2 separate regions of the Homo sapiens genome follow, and region 2 is linked to region 1. The links are contacts of gene promoters, found by promoter capture Hi-C in blood cells and fetal thymus (Javierre and others, 2016). All regions are on one chromosome and are shown on one strand. Each heading gives the region's core, a stretch centred on a gene start or on the middle of the fragment in contact. The rest is flanking DNA. Distances are from core to core; before and after follow the strand shown.

Region 1 (4,046 bases), core at 478-2,977:
CTTCTGAAGGAAGGCCAAATAATTTGAACCAGACAACATTTCAATATTAAAGCTCCAAGTCAAAAGACAGAGATGAGTGTCTGCGTATTTAAATCAGCAATGCCCGCTGCATCTTATAATCCTCCTAGTGGCCAAATGGGGAACTGACCAGATGGTACCCAATGGGACTTCACACCTGAGTGATCAAGAGAAAAATAAGCAATTACAGTCCCCTCCCACACAACGAAACGAAAATAATAACAAAAACACCCACAAAAACAGGCCTGTGGGGTCATGGGCTGTTGAAAATCAATAAGTAAATAAATAAATGGCGCTGAAAGGACACTCTTGACCACAAAGCAAGATCTCAGAGGCCAGATGACTTGTTTTATAGGCAGTTAAAGCTAATAAAACCCAGAGACATACAGCCCTAAAGGTCACTCATTTTGTTTTACTTTTAACACTGCCTCAATTTCCAAGCCAAAACCTGAAACCAAACCAAACCAAAAATGTAAATAGATAGCTGCCTGAACATGGGCTGGGAAGACAGGTAAACGGTGAGATTCAGGTCTAAAGGGATTCCATTTTAAAAGGAAAGCAGTTCTGTCTGTCTTCAGAGCAAGGTTAAGAGTCCTCGGGAAGGTGCAACGTCTCCCCTGAACACTGTCTCTGCTCTCCCACAGGTATTAGGTTGCAGCGTCTAGGGCACACCACAGACTTTGGCAAGAAAAAAAACGAGTGAAATCTCAGCTTGATGAAAAGAGAGTGCGTTCCCACCTCCAGCTCTGGTGCAGTTCCCACGGAGCAAAGCAAACTCGACTGAATCCAAGTGATCTGTATCTGCCAAAAAGGAGAGGACAAGAAAGCTGGTCACTTAGCCGCCTGGCTGTTCACCTGACCCCTGGGGTTGGGTCTGGGGCGTGTCTAATCAGCCGAGATGGTCCCTCTGCTTCTTCAAGCATGAGCCCAGGTAAATTCCCAGGAATTACCAGACAAGAGCCTGACAAGAGCCGGAGGTCTTCCGAGGCGGCTCAGACAAACCCTTAGACAACACAATCTCCGAAATCTAAATTTAGAAGCTTTTCTGCGAGACCCAGACGCGGGGACTGATACCCCCCGGTCTGCACGCCCACGCCCATCCTCCCCTCCCCCAGCTCCACCCAAGGCTGTCAGACGCCGGGGCCGTCCCCGCCGGGGCCCGAGGAGGCGGGGTGCCCGCGGCCCGCGCAAAAGCCCCCCGGCCCCGCACCCCGCGCCCCGCGCCCGAGAGCGCCAAGGGGCAGCAGGAGGAGCGGCCGGGGAGGAATTGGGGTTGGAAGCGGGGAGGGTGAGCCCGGGCTGCCCCCCTAGGCCGGAGCTGGCCCCCGGCCCTCTCCCCAGTGCAGACAAAAGGACCAACAGCCGGCGGCCGCGAGGGGGCGAGGAGCCCGCATCCCCAGCCCGGACCCGGAGGGAGGGCAGGGGGTCTTTTTACCCGGCGCCTCGGCGCTGCGCTGCGCTCTGGGTCCCTGGGCCCCGCCTCCGGACAGACGGACCGCCGGACAATGGACCCGGGACCGCAGCCCAAGCCAGCCGGGCCGGGGCGCTCCGGGACTGGGCCCCGGCGAGCGGAAGGGGCTCCGGGCCGAGCCGAGCCGGTGGCGGGGAGCCGAGGGGCGGCGCTGCAGACGGACAAAGCCAACAGCAGACAGACAGACGGAGGGGGAAAAAGATGGCGACGCGGGCGGCGGGAGCGCGCGGCTCGCGCACCCGCAGCTAGTGAGGCGCGTGCACGAGCCTCCCTCTCCCCCTCCCCCGCGCCGGCCAGGTCCCCTTCCCCGCGGCCCGGCGCGCGCCTGGCGTTGTGGGCGGGGCCTGAGGAGAGGGGCTCTGGAGAGGAGGGGCTCCGGGGAGCGCCCAATCCCGGGCGCCCGAGAGGGGCTCGCCCGCGTTCCAGGGCTCCGGAACCCCCCGCCTCGCCCATTCCCGGGTCTTTCTCTGGCTGTCTCAGCCGCTCAGCTCCCCCAGACCTTCCTGGACGTGTAAACGCCACCCTACCCAGCCCCGATCCTGGTTTCTTACCCCACCATCGAGTTCAGCCACAAAACCCACAACCCCCAACCACAGCTCCGCCGCAGGCACCCCCTCTCCTTAGCCCGGATCCCCACCACCGTCACAAACCCTCTTCGCCTCATTCCCCCACGCTTCGCGGTGGCTTCGGCTCCCGAGGCTTTGAATGTGACCACGGGCCTTGGTGGGAGGGGCCAAGTTCAGCTGTCAGAACCTCAGAGCTGGGAAATCTTGAGATTTCTTTTGAGTATTTAATTTTCTGACATGATTCTCAACTGATAAAATAACATTGGCTGCAGACCCAGGGGCAGGGGAACTTGTGGCACTGTTGTCACTTGAGGGATGTTTGGGGGCAATGGAGAGCCGTTGGACCTTTTTTTTTTTTTTTTTTTTGAGACAGAGTCTCGCTCTGTCACCCAGGCTGCAATGCAATGGCGCGATCTTCGCTCACTGCAACCTGCGCCTCCCAGGTTCAAGCGATTCTCGTGCTTCAGCCTCCCGAGTAGCTGGGACTACAGGCGTGCACCACCACGCCCAGCTAATTTTTGTATTTTTAGTAGACGGGGTTTCACCATGTTGGCCAGGCTGGTCCCGAACTCCTGACCTCAGGTGATCCTCCCGCCTCGGCCTCTCAAAGTGCTGGGATTACAGGCGTAAGCCACTGTGCCCGGCCTGGTTGGACGCACTTCTAGTCAAACACCTCCTCCTGTCCACGTCCTTCTCTCTCCTAGTTCCTGTTGCCTTCTTTTCTTCCTCTCTTCTAGAATGCCTGAGCCTGCCCTGGCATCGCTTACCTGGAGAAGCAGGGAATGCAGAGGAAAGAAGATGAGATCTGGTATTAGAAGATCTGGCTTTGAGCCCCAGCTCTGCCACCCACCAGCCTGTTGACTTTGGGCAAGTCACTTCCCTGTTCTGAGCCTCTGCTTCCTAAGATGTCAAATGGATAATGATGCAATAATTCCTGGCCTTTACTCTCCGAGGGTTGTTGTGCCAGTTAAGTAAAACAAATGGCTAAAAGCATCATGCAAATGTTTTTCGTGATTACTGGCTGCACAAAGGCAGGGCTAACGAGGATGCTGTCATTTGCTGATAAAGTGACAAGTCCTGGTATTTGCATAGAACATTCTTGCAAATTGTCTTTCCCCTAAATCTTTTATGAGATGATCTCATTGTCTGCATCTTGTGTTCAATGTAATAGAATGATTACATTGAGGGATCTTGGTCCTTCACAATTCTGTGATAAATAGCTCATTCATCATTCACTCATTTATTTATTGTGATTAGGATACTTAGATAGCAATTATTGTTGTTTAACTTCAGTCAAGGAAACATTTTAATTTCATTTAAAAACTTAGTTTCCAAGTAGACAGAAAATGGAATATTATCATCCAACCCGCAAGTGTTTGTACTATTTTGTGTAAGAATACAACCTAGAATACACACTGGCTTTTATATTTAACAGTAATTCTTGATCAGTTTGGACTGAGGGATACAAGTATGGCTTTATTATGTCACTTTAAAGCTGACTTAGTTGACATTTTCAACAGAAAAGTAGCAAACAGGTAAAGTTTGCCTCCAGTGAAATTTCTTGGATGCATTATTATTATGTAATGTTGGGCAGCTTATTCCATCTCCTTGACTTCCAAATAAAATGAGATGATAATAATGCTATTCTTATGACTTCCCTGTGCTCTAAAAATTTCTCAGAGGTGTTGTGATTCAAGGTTACAACCAAATAATGAAAAAATTATTAAATACGTAATTAGTTTAAGTTAGGCATGGTGGCTGGCACCTATAGTCCCAGCTACTCAGGAGGCTGAGATGGTATGATGACTTGAGCCCAAGTGTTTGAGGCCAGCTTGGGCCACATAGTGAAACCCTTGTCTCTTTAAAAAAGAAGAATTAATTTATTTTTCCTCTGCTTTCACCTAAACTTGTTCTACATCTAGAAGACCTTTTAATTAACCATATATATTTTTTTAGCTTCACTTTTTTCTACTTTCCCAATCTACTCACAG
Region 2 (4,046 bases), core at 530-3,029, 420 kb before region 1:
GCAAATTCTTTCAATGTTTCGGAAATGAGTAATTCTAACACTATGTAAACCGTAGCAGAGCACAGCAAAGTAAGTTTCCCAATTCTTTTTATGGTGCCAGCACAATACTGATGCAAAAACTACAGACCAGTCTCATTTATGAATTCTAATGCAAAAATTCTATCAAGGAATAGACTCCAATAGTTCATTAAATACATCATGAGTAAGTAGGATTATCCCACGAAGATACTAATTAGTATATTTTTCACATTAATAAATCAAAGAAAGATAAACACACTGTCCATCTCAACAGATGCCAAAGATGTTTAACATAATTCAACATTTGTGCCTAATTTTAAAAACTTACACACTAGAGAAACTCTCATATGTAGGAAGTACGTACAAAAATATTATCAGCACATTTTAATAACAAAACACTGAAAACAACCCACATGTCCATTGAAAATACATCGATAAATTTTCATACAGTTTTTACAATGGAACATTACCCAGAAGCTACACACAGAATGAATTTGGAAACTTAACATTGAATTATGCGAGTCCCAGATGACTTATACACACAATGGTGCCATTTATATGAAGCTCAAAAAAAAAATTTAAGTACATTGCTTACAGATACATGCATATGTAATTATTTTTTAAAATAACAGGGCTACAATTAACACAAAAGTCAATATAACTGTTACCTCTAGGGGTTGGAGGCTGGGAGTTGGGTTGAGGAGGAGGAACACATTGATAAATTCAGCAGTACTGGCAATCTTCTCTTTCTTAATTGGGTGGTGTGTTCATGGATGTTTACTACTATATATGTAACATATAAATATATATTTTAAATAAATATATAAACCAGCAAGGATGGGGTGAAATTGAGGACCCAAAATGTAATACAAAGAACAGCCAATGTGCTTAACTATACTACAGTGAACATAACCACACTTAAGTGGTAGGAAAGAAAAGGGGTAAGCAACTTTGGAAAACAGTATTTTGACTAAATACCATAAGAGTAAAGACAAAAAGACCTGTATCCAAGTACTGTACTTTAGGTAGTAAATTTGCTTTTCATGGGGGTATGAATTAGCGATTCTGAGACTACTAAATATATTCTAAAACTGAGTGAATTCGTAATTACGTTGTAGAAGTCATTCCCAGGTCACTGTCAACCCTGAGCCGAGAGAAGCAGGGCTGAGTTACCTTTTGGGACTGACACTGCTCCAGGAGACAATGTCCTCCAAAAGCCGGGCTGCTTCTGCTGCCGGGTGACTGGGAGGGGCTCTGCGCTCCCACTCGGCCCTAATTCATGACCCTATGTCAGGAGCCTGGGAGCACACGGTCCATACTCGGGATGCACATAGGTTAATGTTCCTGCCAGACCTCAGCATGTCAAAAGACTTGTGGTATCACCTCGGGCCGCTTCACGCCCGCAAATATTCCATCTTTTAGCTGCACCGACACATCTTCCCCCGTCGACCAAGTGCTAAATGCTCAGGGCCTCGTGGCTGGGACAGCAACGTGCGTTTCCCCTTCCAATGGGCGCAAGCTATTGAGCCACAAAGACCAAAGCTGGAGTCGAGGAGCGCGGAAGAGCACCCCGGGCCGCCGCCCTGCTCCCTCTCCCAGCCTGGGCCTCCTGGCAGCGTAGGCCACGGGAGACCCTGCAGCACCCAGGGTGGGAGTGCGTCTCAACCGGACCCAGAGCCTGGGGGACAGGGCACGGCACACAGCGCCCGGAGCCCTGCACTCACCTCCGTAGCGGACTGCTCCCCGGCGCTGCCGGAAGTGCGTCACCAGGCGGCCGGGCCTCTCTAGGAGCAAGGTCGCTGCGCCTCGGTGGTGGTCACGCCCGGCCAGCTGTGGCCGCATCCCTGTCGGCTAGCTCGGGTCTGGCCCACGGTGACTGTTACCCCTGGGGAATGGGGCAGGTAAGAATCAGAGCCAAGCGGGGACCCAGCCCGGGGAGGTGAAGCTGCAGGTGCAGCCACGTGTGGGAGTCTTGGAAATGGACCAGTGGATGGCGCGCTGTCACACCCAATGCCCCCTTTTTCTAACAAATAGTTTGTAATGTCCATCTTATTCTCCTGACCTGATATTCATATATAATGGCCTAGAAAATCATACATAACATACACACCTACATATTAAAAACTAATGTTATGCCTTAAGTGTAATGAAAGAGAAAAAAAAGAGGACCGTCATCTGTCGTTTAAAAACACATACTTCAATGTGTTTGGTCTTGGCTGCTGCAGGAGACCTAATAAGGTGGTCGCCTTTACACATAGACGTTGTCTGAGTGCCACAGCCACAAAGCTGTGACTTACATTGTTGCAAAAGTCACAAAATTATGATCCAAAATGGCAAACATGTTTTCGTGAAGTTCTGAATGAAACACAGGACAATCGTCTCTTGATTATACAATAATTACATTCCTGGAAGATCAGTGTATGTTAAAACTGTGCAAAAATACATGTTTATCCAGAAAACAGGTTTAGATTCAGATAATTTAGAAATAGAATTTTCACCTACCTGAATGTTCAGCAAGACATTTGAAAGTGTGAACATTTTTTCAGTGGGCAGGACTGTCCTGTACATTGCAGGATCCTGGCTCCTATCCACAACGCTAGTAGCAATGTTACCACTGACACCAAATATAACAAAATACCTACCATAAAATTCCAAAATGAGCCCTGGGGGAAGGGAGACAGTACTAAATGCCACTGGATTGGACGACCCTTAAAATCCCCACCCCCTCACACACCCCCTAACCCTGGTAATGTGGGCTTTTCTTCCTTCCAGCTCTGATCCATCCAACGCTGCTGCACTGGAGACTGGTATTTGGCTCCCACTTGCCTCTGTGGCTTCTTATCACTCCCATTCATTCCCTGACTCTACCTCAGCCCTACATGCTAAAAATGCTGTTCTCTAAATCTAGAATGCCCTTCCCTTCCCATTCCTACCCTCCATCTTGACTGTTACTGGAAGTGTGAGCTCAAATCCCATTTTGCATGGGAAGCAAGCCTTCCCTCATCACCCAGAATAAGGCAGGACACTCATTTATGTGCCATCACAGCACTGTGTACTTACTTAATGGTGATAGTTTATTTATATGTCTGTCTTCTCTGGTGGCTGCAGGGAACAGACACTGTATCTATCTTGTTCAACATCATCATCCTCAGCTAGAGAATAACTGGCAGAAAGAAGGAGAGCAATAAACATTTGTTGTTGACAATGGTCCAAAGGCTCCAGCCCTAACTCTTAGGCAGAAGCCTACTTTGTGTGTCCCCAAGGGTAGGATATGTCTTATGCCTTGGACCTTGACAGTGACCATGGCCAGGTGCCCTTCTCTGCCTTGCCCTGACCCTGATCTTCACTGTTTTCCAAAATGAGTTCATTAAGAAAATGATTGGGCAGAGTAATAGCTGGGGATTACGTTGCTCTTGTCAATAAGTTCTGGTTTTCACTTCTTTCTAGGGTCAGAAATCAGGAGTGAGGACTTGTTGAAAGAAATAGGAAGGAATCAGATCACATAAATGCTGGCCCCAAATGTTTGCATCATAAACCCATTGCCTAATTTTACAGTTGAGAAAATAAAGCTCTCTAAATAACCACAAAGCTCCTACTCCTACTTCAGACATATCAGAAAAATGAGATAATAATGCACAAACCAAGTTTCAAAAGCTCTATGGTAGGTCTGGAGAGATGGAGATCAGTTCTTGTCTGTCAGCCCCTGTTCTTCCATTCTTATAAGGTTACAGAATCTCTAGCAAGGGACATGACAGCTCAGGGAAAAAGCACACATTTCCCAGCATTCTTTAAGGCAAAGTGTGTCCATGTGACCAACTTCTGGCAAACAGGCTGTAAGAAAATGTGATGCTGTGTCCTTAAAGACAAGGGACATGCCCTCCCTGCCCCCAAACCTTCATCGACCAGGTGGAATGTTGACAAGGGAGAGCATCAGAGCATCTTGGACCATGTGAATAAGGGTGTGGCTGCTGGGGATGACAGAGCAACTAAAAGGAGGAGGCACAGAGCTGCTATATCAGCCCCAGATG

What was found. The method cuts DNA at HindIII sites, captures the fragments that hold promoters and counts their contacts. A CHiCAGO score of 5 or more calls a contact.
Region 2: a contact is called between the fragment with the promoter of ZNF23 here and the fragment with the promoter of ZNF821 in region 1, in 2 of 17 cell types (naive B cells and fetal thymus). The highest score is 5.5, in naive B cells.

Annotation. Positions count from the first base shown.
Region 1 is chr16:71,882,455-71,886,500 of GRCh38, forward strand. It overlaps ZNF821 (zinc finger protein 821), which reads right to left and starts at 1,728. Exons shown (of 8, transcript NM_001201552.2): 1 at 1,454-1,728; 2 at 757-819. RefSeq lists enhancers at 554-753, 2,594-3,094 and silencers at 1,114-1,233, 1,254-2,013. The HindIII fragment of the contact is 5,845 bases long and covers 1,057-4,046 here.
Region 2 is chr16:71,460,468-71,464,513 of GRCh38, forward strand. ZNF23 (zinc finger protein 23) reads right to left here and starts at 1,780. Exons shown (of 5, transcript NM_001381984.1): 1 at 1,743-1,780. LOC124903709 (a long non-coding RNA gene) reads left to right here and starts at 1,845. Exons shown (of 2, transcript XR_007065105.1): 1 at 1,845-2,825; 2 at 3,466-4,046. RefSeq lists enhancers at 1,379-1,468, 1,739-1,898. The HindIII fragment of the contact is 7,082 bases long and covers 1-4,046 here.